Regions from separate parts of the Homo sapiens genome. Here all the other regions are linked to region 1. The links are contacts of gene promoters, found by promoter capture Hi-C in blood cells and fetal thymus (Javierre and others, 2016). All regions are on one chromosome and are shown on one strand. The core of a region is centred on a gene start or on the middle of the fragment in contact, and the rest is flanking DNA. Distances in the headings are between cores, read along the strand shown. Region 1 holds the start of POP4 (POP4 ribonuclease P/MRP subunit). Region 2 has its middle 63 kb from the start of UQCRFS1-DT. Region 3 has its middle 56 kb from the start of CCNE1. Region 4 has its middle 16 kb from the start of URI1.

Evidence for each region. The method cuts DNA at HindIII sites, captures the fragments that hold promoters and counts their contacts. A CHiCAGO score of 5 or more calls a contact.
Region 2: a fragment that was not itself captured here is called in contact with the fragment with the promoter of POP4 in region 1 in 2 of 17 cell types (total CD8 T cells and naive CD8 T cells); the score reaches 7.7 in total CD8 T cells.
Region 3: a contact is called between a fragment that was not itself captured here and the fragment with the promoter of POP4 in region 1, in 9 of 17 cell types (naive CD4 T cells, naive CD8 T cells, non-activated CD4 T cells and 6 more). The highest score is 15.7, in naive CD4 T cells.
Region 4: a fragment that was not itself captured here is called in contact with the fragment with the promoter of POP4 in region 1 in 5 of 17 cell types (non-activated CD4 T cells, naive CD4 T cells, naive B cells and 2 more); the score reaches 6.3 in non-activated CD4 T cells.

The regions. Positions count from the first base shown.
Region 1 is chr19:29,604,422-29,609,201 of GRCh38, reverse strand. It overlaps POP4 (POP4 ribonuclease P/MRP subunit), which reads right to left and starts at 2,919. Exons shown (of 7, transcript NM_006627.3): 1 at 2,877-2,919; 2 at 493-545. The coding sequence starts at 2,883. RefSeq lists an enhancer at 2,777-3,266. The HindIII fragment of the contact is 1,017 bases long and covers 2,477-3,493 here.
Region 2 is chr19:29,273,954-29,278,998 of GRCh38, reverse strand. No RefSeq gene overlaps it. Among named protein-coding and RNA genes, the nearest start is that of UQCRFS1-DT, 63 kb to the right of the region's middle. RefSeq lists an enhancer at 1,524-1,573. The HindIII fragment of the contact is 3,970 bases long and covers 867-4,836 here.
Region 3 is chr19:29,865,469-29,870,704 of GRCh38, reverse strand. No RefSeq gene overlaps it. Among named protein-coding and RNA genes, the nearest start is that of CCNE1, 56 kb to the right of the region's middle. The HindIII fragment of the contact is 9,260 bases long and covers 1-5,236 here.
Region 4 is chr19:29,923,405-29,928,625 of GRCh38, reverse strand. It overlaps a transcript of URI1 not described here. Among named protein-coding and RNA genes, the nearest start is that of URI1, 16 kb to the left of the region's middle. RefSeq lists enhancers at 1-308, 309-810. The HindIII fragment of the contact is 4,520 bases long and covers 343-4,862 here.

The DNA.
Region 1 (4,780 bases), core at 1,670-4,169:
TGGAGAAGCAAAATAAAGGTATACTGGTCTTTCAAAATCTTGCTTTCAAGGTAATGCTCTCATTATGAGCCACAAGAGGAACTTTTGCAAAACTGACAAAGCAGGCCGAGGCATTCAGATATAATCTGTAAATTTCACTTATGATATGTGATTGCACACCTTCTGCAGAAGTGCAGAGGGCACAGTGACAAGGTTGAATGATGCTGCCCACCACGTGGGCACAGCCTGGTGTCCCCAACACAGTGGGAAATGATAAAAGGTTAAGGAAAGCCTCATTTTACCAAACTTGACTTTGGCACAACAGAAAAGGAGGCTGGCACGTGGGAACAGGTAATGAGAACTACAGACTTTGATCCAGCCTTAGATGTCTGCCAGAAAAATGAGGAGTATGATGTGGGAAAGGACATCTCAATCAGTGCTGGGGGCTCAGAAGCTACTGAGCCATCTTTGCCATCACCTCTGTTGCTCCTGGACTCCCTGCCAAGAACTGACCTGGACATCGGAGTCATTCGCCTCTTTCTGAGACAATGCATGGTAGATCACACCTGGGGGATTAAAAAAAAGAAATGATCAATTCTTGTTGGGTATGGCTGTAAGACCCAAGACTTTTCTAACTATGAAAATAACTACGCCACTAGGCGCAGTGGCTCATACCTGTAGTCCTAGCACTTTGGGAGGCCAAGGCGGGCGGATCCTGACCCAAGGTCAGGAGTTCAAGACCGGCCTGGCCAACATGGTGAAACCCCGTCTCTACTAAAAATACAAAAATTAGCCGGGGATGGTGGCTTGCACTTGTATTCCCAGCTACATGGGAGATTGAGGCAGGAGAATCGCTGGAACCTGGGAGGCAGAGGCTGCAATGCGCCAAGATCGTGCCATTGCACTCCAGCCTGGGTGACAGAGTGAGACTCTGTCTCAAAAAAAAAAAAAAAAAAAAAAGAAAAGAAAAGAAAAGAAAATAACTACACTTCTACACTTATAGCAGAACAACTGCTTATTCAGAGATAGGAGAAGATGAGGTTGGTATTAAGAGCAAAGCTTTCTTGGATGCCTCTTATCCCACCCTCTGGCCACATCTATGCTAGAAGTTCCAAGCACATGGTTTAAAAAGAATGCTTCTCAAAATTTAACGTGTGTAAAAATCTCTGGGATCTTATTAAAATGCAGATTATTGGTCTCCTACCCTAGATCCTGAGTGTTTAACATATTCCCAGATACTACTGCAGGTCAGTGAATCACATTTTGAGTTGCATTGGTTTAAAATACCCCAAGTTAGAAGCTTGAGCACTTGCTAACAAGGTAACTCATTAAAAGTTATATGATATAGCTGTCTAGGATGTAGATGGTTAGAAATAGGTTTTGTTAACTGTAAGATGTTTAAAAAGATTCTTCACATTTTAATATGAAATTATAATGTGTCACATAATCGATGGTGTCCTGAACTGATAAAATACAAGTTTTTCCTTTAAACTCAAAATATACATTGGTCAATAAAGTTTCAACCTCTAAAATAAATTCCACACTTCTGTTTCTTAATTTTTTGAAAGAAGAAAACCATGGCACTGGGGACAGAGTACAGGTGTGAATGGAATAAGAATGGGACTACTAAGGCCTGGTTTATGAGCTAAATAGCTAGAAAATGTAATTTACACTATACTCTGTAAATTTAATTCCAGCTTTCTTGTACTTCCCTGAGAATGTTTGATGCAAGGTGGTTACAAGTTTTTTTTTTTTGTTGTTTGTTTGTTTGTTTTGATACTGGGTTTTGCTCTGTTGCCCTGGCTGGAGTGCAGTGGCACAATCATAGCTCACTGCAACTTCGACCTCCTGGTTTCAAGTGATCCTCCCACCTCAGTCTCCTGAGTAGCTGAGACTACAGGTGTGTGCCACCACACCTGGCTAATTCTTTTTTTTTTTTTCCAGTTTTTGTAGAGACAGGGTCTCGCTATGTTGTTGCCCAAGTTGGTCTTCAACTCTTGGCCTCAAGTGATCCCCCTGCCTCAGCCTCCCAAAGTGCTGGGACCACAGGCGTGTCCCACCACACCCAGCCAGGTATGTTTGTTTGATCAAGCAAACCAATGTGGTTGCAAGTTTTATATATAGCATCTAGTTCTCCCTCAAATGGAAGATGGGGATTATAAACTGTAGAGAGCAACTTGCGGGGCCTGATAACTTTGCTTCATCTGTTACAGGTGCTTAGTAACAGACTTGGAAGTCTTTCTGCAACAATACACATCTAACAATTACTGAACATCCATTACTTGCCAGAAACCTCATTACAAGGTACACATATTTTTTCTCATTACACTTATGTGCATGAGCAAACTGAAGCTCAGACATGCCGAGACAATCTACTTGATCATATAGGTAGAAAGTGGCAGAGATGAAAAATAAAAATTCTGATTGAAGGCCCAGTCTTAACGGTGTCTACACGCCCCTCCTTGGCACATGTCTTCTACCCCTAAGGACCAAAGCTTTGGGTTAGTGATATCATTCCCCAGCAGCTCTCGGCGCTTTGCATCAGGTTAAGAGTGTGAAACCAGCTCGCAGAAAGGAGCAGGATCTTGACCGCGGTCACCCCGGGAGATAGTGGCCAAGTTGAGCCAAGGCCTGGAACCCTCCTCTAGCATCGCACACCACTGAGCAGCCTCCGGGAGAACCTGCCTCCAGCCCTGACATCCCTCCCTAGCTCAGAGGTCGAGCCAGGCTAACCCGTGCTCCAGCCCTCAGTTTTTCTTAGGTAGGGTGGGCCCATTCCTGTAGCGGTTCTGTTAGGACTCCGCAGCAACAGGTAGCCCGGACCCATTTCACCCACCAGTACCAAGACCCCGACCCTTAACGTCCCCAACCCTCTCCAACTTCGCGGCCCCGCTTACTCTTCATTCTCGGACCGCTTCCGGCGCTCTCTGATGACGCACTGGCAGCTGCTGTCGCAGACTCTCGGAGCTCGGAGATGGCGCTATGCGTGACATCACCGGCGCTCGCCCACCTCGGGGGCGCATGCGCCTGGAAAGGGATTCGGCTACTGAGAACGTCGTAGGCGGTGTTGCTGAGCAGTGGGGAGGAGTGGGCTCGCTTCCTGGGGTCTTTTCCGCCTGCATCTTTTGGGGGACAGGCAGTAGGGTTGGGGTAAAGGCATGTGGAATGCTTGCTAAGGCCTGGAGTGGAGCGAGGCGAGGCGACTTGGAGAGGACTCGAAGGAGGTTGGGGATCTGGGAGGGCGGAAATGGGACGGGGACGGTGGGGTGAGGTCTTTGTCGTCCCTAATCAGCGCCCTTACGGATGAGCCGAGGCAGCTTCCGCTGTGAGCACGGGCACCGAAGCTGGGACAGCAGGCTTAGGTTCTAGTTCCGTGTCTGCTGCTAACTAGCTGTTTAACCTCGCTTAGGGCACTTCCCATCTGTAAGCCTCACTTGCAGTCTGTGCTGTGAGTGGGGTCGGCCTCACAGGTAGTGATGCGCCGCCTGGGTCCCTTTGATAGTTTCAGAAAGCTTTCTTGAGACTCAGAATATTTATTAGTTTTTATCAATAAAAAAATCATAGCAATAAGATCAAAGGTGGCTCACACCGTGGGAGGCGCAGGCGGGAGGATCTCTTGAGCCCAGGAGTTCGAGACCAGCCTGGGCAACATCGGGAGACCCCATCTCTACAAAACATTTAAAAAAAATTATCCAGGCGTGGTGGTGCGTGCTTGTAGTCCCAACTACTCGGGTATCTGAGGTGGGAGGATCAGTTGAGCCCAAGGAGTTTAGGGCTGCAGTGAACCTGGATTGCGCTACTGCACTCCAGCCTGGGTGACAGAGTGAGACCCTGTCTCCAAAATAAATAAATAAATTCCATATAAATAAATAAATGAATAAACAAACTCCATTGCTCAGTGGAAAGGTGCAGGAAGGCCTGGTGCAGACTTCTCAGCAGTGACCCAGTGTTGGGCAGAACTGTGGAGCCCCAATTTCTGCTGAGCACTGGGCCTGTGCTGGGTGGGAGAGAAAAGAAATACGGTCCCTTTATGCTAAGTCAGTGGTTCTCAACTTTGAGTACAGTATACATTTCTTTACAGGGGATTCTGGGAGTATGTCCAAAGGTTTTAGTTTGAGAAACATTGGCTTAAACAATTTCTTTGGTGGTGACCTTGTACCATTTTGATTTTAAACATTAGACTGCAGGCACTGAAATTGGTTCATCCCAGTGACCCCGCGTGCATTGACTTTATAAAATTTATGTATTAGTTTTTGCATATGTAGTACACTTATGCATTTATTTTATACGTATAAAATTTGGAAAGACCACATTTAAACCAAAACATGCTGCCTTTGCAGATGCCTGAAAATTGTAATTTATGGGACTGATAGAGAACTTTTATTATTTTTAAAATTAACCAATAAGAATTGTATGTATTTATGGTATACAATATGGTTTGAAATGTGTATACATTGTGTAATGGCTAAATGAGCTATGAGCGATGCTAATACACTCATTTTGTGATGAGAACACTTCAGACCTACTCTCAGTGAAATTCAGGTTATTAACTGAAATTCACTGTTATTAACTATAGTCACCATGTTGTACAATAGAGCCCTTCACAAATGTGAACTTTAAAATCAAATGAGACAGCAGAAGATGTTAGCCAGTTTCAGAGCTGTGTACTCAAGGGGGGCCCTTTTAGGCAAGACCTCTGTGATTATGGAGATTAATGAGAAGACCTGTGTCTTTGAAAGTTTTTTTCTAGGGTTGTTAGGACTCTTAACTCCCAGTTGACTCCTTCTGGGATCCCTGGATA
Region 2 (5,045 bases), core at 1,602-4,101, 330 kb after region 1:
TCAGTGAAGAAATAGCTTGAGGCAGACCAGAGTGTGCAGGTCCTGCTCCAAGACAGCTCTTGTCAGCCCGCTGCTGGTGGTGCTTGGGGAATGCCAGGGCTGAGGTGCTACTGAGCACATTGCAGCTTTCCCAGGGCAGGTGGCAGTCTGAATCTTATGTAGAACCTCTTGAGTTTTATGCAGATATGCTTATCAGCTATTCGTTGTTCCTTGAGCAAACCTTGCTGTGAACGTGGTTCTAATCTGGGTCTCTAAAATGTGTAAACTATGCATACAAGGACTTTCTCTAAAACATGGTTTGCAGTAGTGCAAATTGGAACAGAATCACCTGTTCTTCAACAAAGGACTGGTGTGTAAGCGCCAGAACACGGAGCTGGAGAGATGACAACATGTACCAAGGGAAAAAGTTAAGTTGAAGAACAATGTTTGCTGTGATCTCAGGTTTTGTAAGAGCAACGACAAAGCGTGTTTGTACTCCTAGATTTTTAATCGTATATATGATTATAAATGTATAATCTCCAAATTAGGTATAATATATGCAGTTCTATAAATTTGTTAAAGGTATTTCGTGTGTTTGTTTCCTTTTCTTAGGGTCTTAAGGTAAGACCCTAATATGCTTTAACCCTTCAGGGAACACCCTTCCTTTTTTCTCTGTTTTAGTTCCATCCTCCGTAATTTAGGGAAAATAGATTTTTTTCTGAAACTGTCCATGATAAATAAAACATAGTCTATCAATTGTTGTCTTTCCTTTCCCCTCCTTCCCTTTGGTTCATGTATGTGTGTATTTTGAGTTGTTTCTTGTCACAGATTTTTCTTTTTTTAGAGCAAGGATATGTGGGTAGTAAACTTTTTATGTCCGAAAAGCTTAATTGGCCATAGAGTTCCAAGTTGGCTTTTCATTTTATTTTGGCCTCTGAAGATATTATTGCGCCGCTTATGGTTGGGAAGTCTGTTCTCCACCCAGTCAATGGGCACCCCTTGGTGGTTGGTCGTTTCCCTTCCGATGGCCTTTCCTGTGTTTCTCCCTGTCCGTGGCGCCCTGCGGTTGACTGTGAGGTGTAGGGGATAGGTTTATTCTTGTTCATGCTGCTTGTTTCTTTAGGAGGCACTTTCACATCGAATTCTGTCTATTTTTGCCTTTTGTTACTCTTCTTGAATGTATCTTGGAAACTTTCTCTTCATACACATGCACAAACACACACACATCATATACTCAAGATATAATTCATGCAAAGTTTAGAAACATTCAGGCATTTGATGGAGAATGAGAGAAGTGCTGTAGGGGAAGGGGGCACATAAGGCAAAGAGACAAAATACCTTTAGAAAATTTATAGAAATGCATAGATATCATATCTAACTTAGAGATTATGCATATGTAATCATATGTATGATTTTTGTAGGGGAAGGGGGTTTCAACTGTATTTAGGGTATGCTATTTCCTTTAGAGATTCTCCGAAGGAAGGAAGAAAGGAAGGAAGGAAGGAAAGAAGGAAGGAAAGAATACTAACCATGCCTTTTTATTTTCTGTATTTCTGATGTTTTGAGATGCTGGGGACTTCACCCTGGAGGGACTGCCCCTCCCAGGGACAGGCAGTTCCTAGAGAAAATAAGCAACTCCCCTGCGAGTTCCCCTTTGGTCGACAAACCAATCAATCCAGAGCCCACACCCCGACCACTTCCTTTCCTGGGCTCTCGTAGGTTCTTTCACTTTTAGCCACCAATCACGCCAGGCCTTGCCCTAATCACCCCGGGGCCAGGTATCAGACAACTAGTGACAGCCTCTGCATGCTGGGGCTGCTGAAATTGGACAAACTAGTGGATCCTAAGCCTACATGTTTGCCTCGTCTGTTTCTTCCCATGGAAATCACATAAAGGCTCTTGTCCACCCTTTCCCCTCCCTCCCTCTTCCCCCTGTGGCCCCCTCATGGCATGGTGTCTCCTCCTCTTGGGAACTGTGCGTAACAAGCTCTCTCTTTAATAGCAAGTGTCTCCTGCTCTGCTCAATCCATCATACCTCAATAGAAAGAAAACCTACATTTCAAAATAAAAGGAAAGCAAAATAAAATATAAAATAAAATAAAAGGAAAGAGAGGTGGGTGGATCATTTGAGGTCAGGAATTTGAGACCAGTGTGGCCAACATGGTGAAACCCCGTCTCTACTAAAAATACAAAAATTAGCCGGGCATGGTGACTCATGCCTGTAATCTCAGCTACTCAGGAGGCTGAGGCAGGAGAATCGCTTGAGGCCAGGAGGCAGAGGTTGCAGTGAGCCAAGATCATGCCACTGCACTCCAGCCTGGGTGAGACTCTGTCAAAAAAAAAAAAAAAAGGAAAGAAAAAGGAGAAAGGATGGAAGGAGAGAGGAAGAGAGCAAAGAAGGAAAGGAGGGAGGAAAGGAGAGAGGAAGAGAAACAAACAGAGGGCATGATTAGAGCAGGCCATCCAGCGAGGAGGCTGCTGGAGTTGTTCCAGTGAGGGATGGTGGTGACTGGACCAGCGAGACGGCAGTGGAAGGGACAAATGTGTGCACGGGAGGCAGGTGAATGAAAATCCACAGGCCTTGCTGCTGCAGTAAATATAGGGGGTGATGGAGGAAGAGGATGGAAGGTGGCTCCTGGGCATCTGGCATGACATGCTGGGCAGCTGATGATATTTATTAAGATAGAAGAGATGGGCTGGGACTAGGTTTGGGGCCCTGGCTTGGCAATCCTAGCCAAATAATTTAACTTCACTGTGCCTCTGTGAAGATATCTCCCAAGGAGTTGAGACTAAATGAGGTCATACAATAAGTGGAAGAGCTTCAGGCCTACTGTGAGAGCTCAGTGAAAGCTGGCAATGATGGAGACAGCTGGAGCCTGGCGCCAAAGAGGATGGGGTGGAGTGGGTGGCTGAGAGCCAGTGGGGGGTGGGTTGCTGAGCAGCAGTGGTGGTCCTCCTAGGGTCTTAGCAAAGGAGAAGCATGACCAGATATCCATTTTACAAATGTCATTGTGGCTGCCATGTGCAGAGTAGGCAGAAGGAGAACAAGAGGATGTGGGGAGACCAGCTAGGAGGTCTTTTCATGCTGGACCAAAAGTGGCAGCGGAGGAAGGGAGGGGGGCTAGATGTGCAGCAGGTATGAGCGATAGTTCATGATTGCAGCATGCAATACATATTACAATTCTCAAGTTTCTTTAAATCAACTTAAACTGGACACTGAGAACCCCAGTTCCACCATCTTGCTGATGGGAAAGGCGATCTCAGATAGCAATTTAGTCCTCCTTGTCCTCATTTACTCTGCTGAGTTACACAAATGTCCTTGGATGTCACGTGGCACCAAGGTTCCAGAGTTCATGGTGGCTCCCTCTAAGATGCACTGTGTTGTCCCAGCCTGAGAGGTCCCTTTATGCCTGAAGACCTGGGGCTCGGTAACACTATTTAGGACAAAGAAATAGGCAGGTCAGGGAAACCCATGGTCCTGTCTTCCTCCCAAATCACCTCCATATAGCAGGATCTTGGAGGAGGTGCAAAGCAGGCTGTGCTGGGGAAAGACAGCAGGATGTACACAGGCCTCTTACGGGAGCTTGATGGGACACAGCACAGGTGGGGGTCAGGGCGCCGCTGGCTTGTGCTCCAGGAAGGGTGACTCACTCTCTCCTTCCACCTTACCTACTCTACCTTTTTATAGAGGATTTTGCAAATGGAGGTAGGAGACACAGTCTTAACTCATCTAATCTTGGCTGTCAGCTGCTCAGAGGCGCTGCGCACCAGCCCTGGGAGTACCATTTGCCCAAGGGAACTGCATCCTAGCAGGAGTAGAGGCCTCCTGGGACCAGTAGCTTTATCTCACACGTGACAGACAGCATTAATGAAAGCTAGCATTTATTGTGCATGTAATTACGAGCCAGTTTTGGTGCTAAGCATATTGCATATGCACCTTATTGAACCTTCACAACCACCCTGGGAGATATATGCTAGTATTATCATCCTTGAGATAAAACAAGGAAGTGGAGACACAGAGGGATTCAGTGACTTGTTCCAGCTCCGACTGCAGAGACTGTGTTTCCAACCACTCCCTTTCCAGTTTCCTACAGAGCTCCTGGGAGGCAGTACCCAGACAGCCCGGGATTGGCAGGGTCCTCTAGGGAGCAGGGAAAGTGTGCAGGTCTCTCTGCCTGTGCTTTTCTTTCCACTTTCACTCCTGGGGCTGAGTAAGATGCCCTGTGGTGGTTACAGCAGTGCCCTTCCACCTCCTGTCCCTCCACTGCTCCCCAGTTATAGAAAAGCCTGCAAATGAAGGCTCTGCTCTGGAGAATGGTCTTCCAGCTCACATTCCGGCTGAAGAAGGTGACAAGGGTTTAATTTTGCTTGCTAATTTTGCTAAACAAATAGACAAACCAACAAACAAAAGCCCTGCCAATGCCGGCATCCAACCCAGTGAGGCATTACATTTTAGTAATTTAGTAAGCAGCGGCTCCCTGGCTGTATCTCTGCCATTCTGAGGTCTTTATTTAGTGCTCAGGTCATATGAATGGGCTGTATAGAGGGGACTGGATGGGCAAAGCCAATGCCTGTGGCTATGTATTGTAGTTTGGCTGCTGCAGGGTCCAAGGATACAGCGGGTCTGCTTGGGGGCACTTCTTTGCCAGGAGGCTACTGCATCACACATCACACCGTCATGAGACCATTGAATCAACTGCAGCCACCCTCCTGGGGCTCCTGCATAAGCTGCTTTCCCAAATGATTCTTCCATTTGCAGACCATATTCCTTTTGTGGAACATGGTGAAACAATTTCCTGCCTTTGAAGAGTGGAGACAGGCAACTTGGATTCGCTGCTCACCCGCATGGGAAAAGCTTGTCCTCTCCTCTTTCACAATGAAAGGTCCCAGGCTCTGAAGACTAGAGACAGAAAGATGGACTTGAGAGAGGGCTAATGCAATGAACACTGGAGTCAGAGTCCAGAGGCCAGCAGTGCAGCTGCCCCAGCACCGACTCACAGCCTGGACAAGTGATTGCATCTGTGATGTGAGCACGTTAACATTTGCCTCGCTCTACCATGGCCCCA
Region 3 (5,236 bases), core at 2,292-4,791, 260 kb before region 1:
TGCAGTGAGCCGAGATGGTGCCACTGCACTCCAGACTGAGCCACAGAGTAAGACTCTGTCTCAGAAAAAAAAAAATTCTTCTCCTTAATTCCTTTTTTGATCCACATGTCAAGAAATAGTTGAGGCTGGGCGCAGTGGCTCATGCCTGTAATCCCAACACTTTGGGAGGCCGAGACGGGCAGATCACGAGGTCAGAACGAGACCATCCTGGCTAGCACAGTGAAACCCCGTCTCTACTAAAAATACAAAAAATTAGCTGGGCGTGGTGGCGGACGCCTGTAGTCCCAGCTACTCGGGAGACTGAGGCAGGGGAATCGCTTGAACCCAGGAGGTGGAGGTTGCAGTGAGCCGAGATTGCGCCACTGCACTCCAGCCTGGGTGACAGAGCGAGACTCTGTCTCAAAAAAAAAAAAAAAAAAAAAGAAAAAAAGAAATGGTTGAATTTCCAAGTAAGTATTACGGGTTTGTTTTCCTCAATGATTCTTGAGGGGAGCAGGCAGGGGCAGTGGGAGGGCCGGGGGGTGGGGGTGGGGGTTGGATTTTTTTTTTTTTCCCCCGAGACGGAGTCTCCCTCTGTCGCCCAGGCTGGAGTGCAATAATAGTGCGATCTCGGCTCACTGCAAGCTCCACCTCCCGGGTTCATGCCAGTTTCCTGCCTCAGCCTCCCGAGTAGCTGGGGCTATAGGCACCCGCCACCATGTCCGGCTAATTTTTTGTGTGTTTTTAGTAGAGACGGGGTTTCACCGCGTTAGGGATTTTTTTTTTAATTGTTGCTTTCTGTTTTCACTAGGATATGATCAGAGAAGATAACAGGTAGAATTTTTTTTTTTTTTTTTTGGTCTTGATTCCCTGAGATCCTCCCGCCTTGGCCACCAAAGTGCTGGCATTACAGGTGTGAGCCACTGCGCCCGGCCTCCTACAGAGGCCTTTCTACAGAAATCTACTACTTTCTGAAAGAGATACAAGTCATCATCATTATCCAAAAATAATTGTATTAGAGGAAAAAGAAAAAACACTTTAGCGTGAATCCACTTGGGGGAGGGCAAAATTTCATGCATAATGTTATACCGAGACATGAAACCAAGTAGTACAAAAAAGACATTTACTTTATCTAATATTTACTGAAATTTAGGTTATAATTGCAACAATGTCATTTTTAAGACAAATATAAATCCAGTGTACTTTCCCATAGGTATGTTATACTTGAATAAAAAGTTTGCTTAGAAATAATAAATCTAATGTTGACTTTTTGAAAGTATAATTTTTCTAATAAAATTGTGTGATATCATGACAAGACACCCTTCACTTCACATCTGACTTCTGCAATACTACTGTGTTTTGCAAAAGGTAATTGATGGCTTCAGCTATCGTCCTAAGGGCCTCTCTTAATCCTTTGCTATTTGTATCAGTCAGGGTTGCATTTGACAGAAACCCAATTTAGCAACTTTAACAAGCTAGGAGCTTATTTTTCTTATATGACAAAAAAAATCCAAAGGCAAACAGATGGGCTGGTGCCATTGCACACGAAAAACATCACAGATGTGGCCCTTCTGGCCCCCGCTTCACCCTCCTGAAGGTTTCCTATTTGCTTTCTCAAGGTAGCAGCTGCACCTCTAGGAATCTCATCCACATTCCAGTTCAAAGGGGGCATGACTCAAGGCAAAAAGGTTTGAGCCACCTTAGTCTGCCCCTTATTTATCGGGAAAGCAATAACTTTCACAGAAGCCCCACAAGTAGAATTTTTCATGTTACGTTGGCCGAAACACCATCACACGACTACCCCTAGCTGCAGAAGAGTCTGGGAGGAGAGGATTTTTAGCTGAGTACATTACCACCCTAGGCAAAACTGGGTTCATGTCAGTGAAAACAGAATGAATATTGGGTAACAGTTGACAACTTCTGTCACAATAATCAAACCATTTATTTTTATTTATGTACTGAGACAAGCTCTCACTATGTTGCCCACGCTGGTCTTGAACTCGTGGCCTCAAGCAATCCTCCCACCTTGGCCTTTCAAAGTGTTGGGATTACAGGTATGAGCCACCAGCACCTCACCCAATATTGCTCTTTCATAAAATCCTTTTTTTTTTTTTTTTCAAAATGTGTAGTTTCACTTTGTAATTGACTTGAATTATATTGTACTATGGGGTATTTCTACGATTATTGAGAGGCTGACCATCAAAAATGCTGATGCATTTGTCCAGGATAAATGCTAACAGTGAACTGGGAGGAATGGTTGAGTGAATAATAATTTTATAAAAGCTCAATTCATTAGTAACTGGATTCAAGTCACGACTTAACTAAGAATCATAATCATAGCTGTGAAAATTTGGGCAAATTACTCAACCTTCCTGTGCTTCTATTTCCTCATTTGCAAAATGGGAATGGTTTCTCAGTTGTCTAGTTCTGCAAAAGAAACCAGTTCAAAAATTTTAAACAAAAACCATTTTGTTTTCTCACAATTCTGTGTGTGGCAGTTTGGTGTGGGCTCAGCTGGATGGCTCTTCTGCTGATCTTGTCCTTGGTTACTAATGCAGCTATAGTTATCCAGCAACTCAGCTGGGACCAGATGTTCTAAGATGCCTCACCCACATGTCTGATGATGGGTGTTTGGCTACAGGTCTTCAGCAGCCCAGCCCAGGCTTCTTCACACGATGGTGGAAGTGTTCCAAGAGACCAAGAGTGGAAGCTGTGCAGTGTCTTGAGGGCTAACTCACAAGTAAAAAAAAAGTAATTTCCACAACATCCCATTGTCAAAGCAAGTTGCAAAGCCAGACCAGATTCATGGATATAAAAATAGATTCTCTTTGGGAGGCTGAGGGGGCTGGATTGCCTGAGTTCAGGAGTTTGAGACCAGCTTGGGTAACATGGCGAAACCCTGTCTCTTACAAAAATATGAAAAATTAGGTAGGCTTGGTGGTTCGCACCTGTAGTCCCCACTACTGAGAGGCTGAGGTGGGAGGACCACTTGAGCCTGGGAGGAGGAAGTTGCAGTGAGCCGAGACTGAGCCACTGCACTTCAACCTGGGTGACAGAATGAGACCCCATCTCAAAAAAAGAAATAAAAATAGGCCGGGTACAGTGGCTCACGCCACAGCACTTAGGGAGGCTGAGGTGGATGGATCACCTGAGATCAGGAGTTGGAGACCAGCCTGGCCAACTCGGCAAAAACCCATCTCTACTAAAAATACAAAAAAAATTAGCCGGGCATGGTGGTGTGGTGTGCACCTGTAGTCACAGCTACTTGGGAGGCTAAGGCAGGAGAATCACTCCAACCTGGGAGGCAGAGGTTGCAGTGAGCTGAGATCACATCACTGCACTCCAGCCTGGGCAATAGAGTGAGACACCATCTCAAAAAAAAAAAAAAATACATTCTGCCTCTTAAAAGAGGAATTGATAAAGTCACATTGCAAAAGTTTGTATATACAAGGATGGAAGAAATTATTATAGTCATCTTGGCTAACAGATAGTAATAAATCATGACATATAATTTGTGGTAAGGACCAAAAGGGTTAGTACATGTAAAGTACTTAGAACCTTGGCTGGCGCATCATAGGAGCTTAACGTTTGTTATTTCTTATTATCATTATTGTTGCTGCTGTAATTGTACCAGGAATACTTTTGTTTTTCAAAGCAGTCTTATAATTACAGGGACTTGAATAATAGATACTCAGATAATTAGTCCTTTGTATTAAAATACCTTCTATTATAATTATATTTTTACCATGTTCTCTGTGTATTCCTGGGAGTTTTGCTTTATGTGTTTGGCTACCACATTATTTGGTACATACATGTTTCTGAAGACTTTAGTTTCTCTGTGAATTGCACTTCCATGTTTCATAATCTCCTTCTCTGCTCAGGACCTCGCCCCTTGGATTCCATGTTGATTCATCTTCATACTGCCACTATGCTTCTTTTTTTGTCTGCATTTTTCCATTAACTCCTTGCTCAACAATTAATTTTCAACTTTTCATTGTGTCTTTATTTTAAATGTGCCTCATATAAACAGCATCTACTTGAATTTTCTTTTTTTCCAATTTGATAGGAAAATTCATAATTTATAATGATAGATGATATATAATGGGTTTAACCTCTTCCATCTTATTGTGTGTTTACTGATTTTATTACATTTTTCTGGTTTATGCTTACTAAATTATTGTTATTTTCCCTTTCCCATTTACTTTTCTTTGATGGTTGGCTCAGGTTTTTCATCATTCTTTACCCGTATTAATTCAGAAATTCCACAATACTTTTCATTTCCTTTAATGGGTACCTCTCCACTGTTAACATAGAAATTTGTGTTTCTTTACAGATTGTATTATTTATCTATGGCAGGGTAACAAATTACCCCAAAACTTAGCAGTTTACAACAAGAGATGTTTGTTATCTGACAGTTTCTACGGGTCAGGTCCAGGAGCAGCTCTGCTAAATGGTCCCAGCTCAAGGTTTCTCAGGAGGCTGTAACCGGGTGTCGGCCAAGGCTGCAGCCCTCTGAGGCTGGGCTGAGGCTGCAGGATCCTCTTTGAAGCTCATTCATGTGGCTGTTGGCAGGAGACTTCTGTTCCTTGTCCCAAGGGCATCTATGGGGCTGTTCACAACACAGCTTCCCTCACATCAAGTGATGAGAGACAGAGGAACTCCTCGTACCGTTTATGCTTTAACCTCAGTCACATCCTGTCACTCTCTTAGATTCTCTTGGTTAGAAGTGGGTCACTAGGTCTGTCCCACACTACCAGGGAGGGAAATTAAGGTCCATGATCCACATCTTGAAGGGACGATCATCAAAGGGTTTGTGGACTTATTTTTTTTTTTTTTTTGAGATGGAGTCTGGATATATTGCCCAGGCTGGAGTGTAATGGCGAGATCTCGGCTCATTGCAATCTCCACCTCCAGGGTTCAAGCGATTCTCCTGTCTCAGCCTCCCAAGTAGCTGGGATTAAAGGCACCTGCCACTAGGCCAATTTTTGTATTTTTAGTAGAGATGGGATTTCACCATGTCAGCCAGGCTGGTCTCAAACTCCTGACCTCAAGTGATCCGCCTGCCTCAGCTTCCCAAAGTGCTGGGATTACAGATGTGAGCCACCGTGCCTGGCCCAGTGTATCTGTTTTTGGCTGTAGTATTTATTTAGCATTTTCCCCAGAGAGGATATAAGTCTTTGCATACTTTAAAATCTCTTCCAGCTTTGGCAACACAGTGAGACCCGTCTTTACAAAAAAAAAAAAAAAATTAAAATAA
Region 4 (5,221 bases), core at 1,353-3,852, 320 kb before region 1:
CCCCGCTTCCCCTCCACATCCATTCTCCTATGTTGCTTTGAAAATAAACAAGCATCAGGGACTGACACACTGATTTCAAAGTCCCTGCCACTTAAATGGATCCCTTTCATCTACCAGGAACTGAAGATGGAAACAAGTGGGCGGAGACAAAAGAGAGCTGAGTGAAGGGAGGTGGTGGAAAGGAAAGGGGCGTTTCGTGACATCGGCCCAGACTGCTGTCTCCACTGAGGCTCAGGGGCCTCAGGGTTGGCCTCCTGCACTCCTTCTCAGCCTTGGATGCATGTTGGGAGCTCCGAAAAATAATGCTTGGGCGTGACCTGGGCGGTGGGAAGTTTTTAAGCTTCTCTAGTGATTCCTCGAAACAGCCTAGGCTGCTGTTTTCTTGCTGCTAGCAAACCAGCCAAACTCAGTGGCAAAAATCACCGCTCCCAGCCAGGCAGCCGGGCAGCTCTCATTCAGAGGCTCATGCAGCTGCGGTCATCTTGAAAACTTCTGCTTGCACATATCTGGACTTGAGATTAACTGTCACCTGGGATCTCAGTAGGGCAGTCAACCAGATCACCTGTATGTGGCCTTGCCTTATAGCCTGGGCTTCTTTGCAGCACGCCTGTTGAGTTCCAAGGGAGCCAGACAGAAGTGGCATGGCCTTTTCTAATCTAGCCTGGAGTGTCGTGTAGTATCCCTTCAGCCACATTCTACTCATCAGAAGCAAGTCACTAAGGCCAGCTCACATTCAAGAGGGATGGAATTAGGCCGGGCACCGTAGGTCACGCCTAATCCCAGCATTTTGGGAGGCCGAGGTGGGCAGATCACTTGAGGTCAGGAGTTTGAGACCAGCCTGACCAACATAACAAAACCCCATCTCTACTAAAAATACAAAAATTAGCTGGGCATGATGGCAGGCGTCTGTAATCCCAGCTACTGGGGAGGCTGAGGCATGAGAATTGGTTGAACCCAGGAGGTGGAGGTTGCAGTGAGCTGAGATCACGCCATTGCACTCCAGCACTCTAGCCTGGGCGACAGAGTGAGACTCTGTCTCAAAAAAAAAAAAAAAAAAAAAAAAAAGCCGGGTGCAGTGGCTCATGCTTGTAATCCCAGTACTTTGGGAGGCCGAGACAGGTGGATCACCTGAGGTCAGGAGTTCAAAACCAGCCTGGCCAATATGGTGAAACCCCGTGTCTACTAAAATAAAAGATTAGCCGGGTGTGGTGGCATGTGCCTGTAATCCCAGCTACTCAGGAGGCTGAGGGAGAAGAATCACTTGAACCTGGGAGGCAGAGGTTGCAGTGAGCCGAGATTGCACCACTGCACTCCAGCCTGAGCAAGACAGCAAGACTCCATTTCAGAAAAAAAAAAAAAAAAAAGAGGGATGAAATTAGACTTCATCTCTTGATGGGACAAATGCCAAGGAATTTGTGATCCTATGTGAAGACCACCACAGCTACCACTGGAATAAAGTCTCCAGAATCCATTCTCCTGTCTACACTCCCCCAGCCCAAGACACCATCACTGCTCACCTGGGAAGTCCAGTAGCCTCTGCAGGGTCTCCCTGCCTCCCATCTCCCACCCCAGGCTGTCCTCCACACTGCAGCTGGAGTCTCGAGCCCAGAGAGTGGAGTCCACGGCCCCCACAAGCTGGTCTTTGTGTCTCCAATTCATTCGCATCCTCAAGCTCCCAGGCAGAGCCAGACTCAGTACAAGCAGGTGCTCTCCCGAGCCATGCATGAGCCTAGCTCCTGCCAGACAGGCACGTCATCCCTTGGTAGGGAGCCACAAAACTTCCCAACCCCCATCCCTTGCTCCTCCTTCAGGACCTGACCCAGACCCCTCTCCAGGGAAGCCTTCTCTGAGCATCCCCAAGGTGGGTCAAGCTCAACACCCTGGCCTTTCCTTTGCAATGTATAGGTCGTTTCACACATTTTCTTTTAACCTTGTACTGCAGTTTAACACATATGCAGAAAAGTGCACAAATCCTTAGCGAATTTTCACAAAGTGAGCAATCCTGTATATCCAGCTCTCAGGTCAAGAAACAGAACATTTCTAAGGCTGGGTGAGGTGGCTCATGCCTGCAATCCCAGCACTTTGGAAGACTGATGCAGAAAGATCACTTGAGGGAAGGAGTTCAAGTCTAGTCTGGGCAACATAGTGAGACCTCTTCTCTATAAAAAATTTTTTAAAATTAGCCAGGCATGTTGGCACATTCCTGTAGTCCTGGCTACTCAGGAGGCTGGGGCAGGAAGATCACTTGAGCCCAGGAGGTTGAGGCTGCAAAAAGCTATAATTGTACCACTGCACTCCAGCCTGGGCAACAGAATAAGATTCTGTTGAAGGAAAGAAGGTAGGAAGGAAGGAAGGAAGGAAGGAAGGAAGGAAGGAAGGAAGGAAGGAAGGAGAGAGGAAGAAAGAGAGAAGATTTTTATTCGGGTAATGGGTGCACCAAAATATCAGAAATCACTGCTAAAGAACTTATTCATGTAACCAACACCACCTGTTCCTTAAAAACCTATTGAAATAAAAACAGAAAGAAAGAGAGAAAGAGGAAGGAAGGAAGGAAGGAAAGAAGGAAGATTGATTCCTAGAACCCCAGGAGCCCTCCAAGGTCCTTTTGTTCACCATCCACCATCCCTTCCTCCCCCCAGTCCTGGTAACCACTATTCCAACTTCCAATCCTTTGGACTAGTGCCATCTGTTTTTAAACTTCATACCAATGGACTCATACGGTATGTGCTCTGGGGTCTGGTTTCTGTGTCCAGTTTCATGTTAGTTCTTGTAGCATTTTAATCAGAGCCGGTCACATAATTTGTAGTGCCCAGTGCAAAATGAAAGTGTGGACCATCCCCTCCAACCCCACCCCCAACACCATTCAAAAGTTATTAAGAATTTCAAGATGGCAGCTGCAGAGCCTAAGTCAGTCACGGGATTCTTCTGAGTGCACAGCCCTGTGTAAGTCACACACGCCCACGAAGCCATCCTGTTTCCAGTTGCCTGTTTGGTCGAGTGTCTCTTCCTTGAGGGCAAGAGCTGTGCTGGGGGAAAGTCACCATCTCTGTGGAGTTTCTTCAGCCTTCATTCATTAAAACCTCACAGAGGCCCTGAGGCCAAGAAGGAGGGTGATCATTATAAGCATCACACCTGTTTAATTGATGCAATGTCTAGACTGAAAATGCCGCGGGACTCAGCCAAGGTCCCCCAGTGAGTGAGTGCAGGGGCGGACCTCACACACAAGCCCTCTGGCTCTAGGCAGCCTCCCCCTGCCTCCAGCTCTGCCCTAGAATCTACTGCATGCCAAGTACCGGACCCAGGACAAAGGGAAAAAAGAGTTCCTGCCCAAAAGGAACTCTCAATTCAACTGGAAAACAAAAACAGGACTTACACACATGAAGACATTATTAACCAAAACATTTTGTCCTTCATGTGCGGGCCTTGTAGCTGCAAGAATTGGAGGCTGTCTCTGCCTAACCAAGCAAGAAGGATCAACAAGAGAGGGTGCAGCAAGGTGTGGTGGCTCACGCCTGTAATCCCAGCACTTTGGGAGGCCAAGGCAGGGGGATCACCTAAGGTCAGTAGTTCGAGACCAGCCTGGCCAACATGGTGAAACCCCGTCTCTACCAAAAATACAAAAATTAGCCGGGCGTGGTGGTGCATGCCTGTGATCCCAGCTACCTGGGAGGCTGAGGCAGGAGAACCACTTGAATCCAGGAGGCGGAGGTTGCAGTGAACCGAGATCACACTGTTGCACTCCAGCTTGGGCAACAAAGGGAGACTTCATCTAAAAAAAATTAAAAATTAAACAAAATAATAAGAGGGGGTTCAGAGAGCCTGGACAGGAAGCTGAGGGCAGGCAGAGCTCCTGGGAGCCCTAGGGAGCAGTGGAGCCCCACCCCGGCTCTCACAGGGGCATGGTCTGGTCAGTGTGCTGCTGTTGCATCTGTGCAACACACACTCCAGCCATCCCATCAGTCCCGGTATCACTTGCTCACAGGACAGCCTCTGATTGGCTGAGCTCTGGCCTGGGGCTCAACCCCTGGCTCTCCTAGAGCTGGGAGACAGACGGAGGGCCTGGCCCCTCTGTTCTCACAGTGGGAGGGAGGGAATTCCTCAGAAAGAAATCAAGGGGTCATGAGGACCAGGGATGAAAGCGAGGTGGCTAAAAAATGACAGAAACCCCCTATAATGCACGTGTTTGTTTAGATCGCCAGTACACCGAGCAACAATGGGGGGCTCCTGTCCTTGAAACTGACTTTGCCTGTGCTTGTGGAGGAGGCTGGTAAAACCATTGTAAAAGGTGAGTCCGCAAGCACCCAGGTGTTTGTGAAAGTGTGGTGTGATGGTTACTTTTAGCTGTCAGCTTGACTGGGTTAAGGGATACCCAGATAGCAGGTGCAACATTATTTCTGGGTGCATCTGGGAGGGTGTTTTCAAAGAGATTGGTACTCGAATCAGTAGACCGAGTAAAAAACATCTGCCCTCACCAATGTAGGTGGGCAACATTCAATCCACTGAGGGCCCAAATAGAACAAAAAGACAGAGGAAAAGCAAATTCACTCTCTTCTGGACCTGGGACATCCACCTTCTCCTGCCCTGGGACGTTGAAGCTCCTGGTTCTCAGAACTTCAGGCTCAAACTGAATGATACCATCAGCTTCCGTGGCTCTTCAACCTGCAGATGACATACTGTGGGACTTCTTAGGCTCCTAATCACTCAGGCCAATCTCCATTATAAAGCCCCTCTTCCAGGTCTATAGCTATGTCTACAGCGCCATCTGTATCTTGTTCATTCTGTTTCTCTGACTAATCCATGTGGTTAAAGTAAAATCCTCAAACCTCACACTAACAGCAGAGAAGCTATAACACTGTCAAGCTTCAACTCACCAATGCATATGCCAGAGCCCTCTTAGAAACGTGGCTTCCTTGAAGGGAAGACCATGTTGTCATCAGGGCAGTGACCTCCAAGGAGCCTGGAAAAGAGTGAGAAGACCCACTGGGAATAATGTGGAAAGAATTCCCATCTGTGACATAGGAGAGAGGCCCAGAATCTGGTGGACGTGAAGATTCCAGTTCTATCTTGTGGGCAGGGACACATCCCCAGGCCTCACCCAGCACCCTGGGGCTGGAATACACCTCTAACTTGTATCCTACCTCCAGTCCCAGCTAGGCAGGACTATGATCTGGGAAGTAGATTGTGGGAGCCATGTCGTTTGTGGGTGACAGCTGCCTATTGC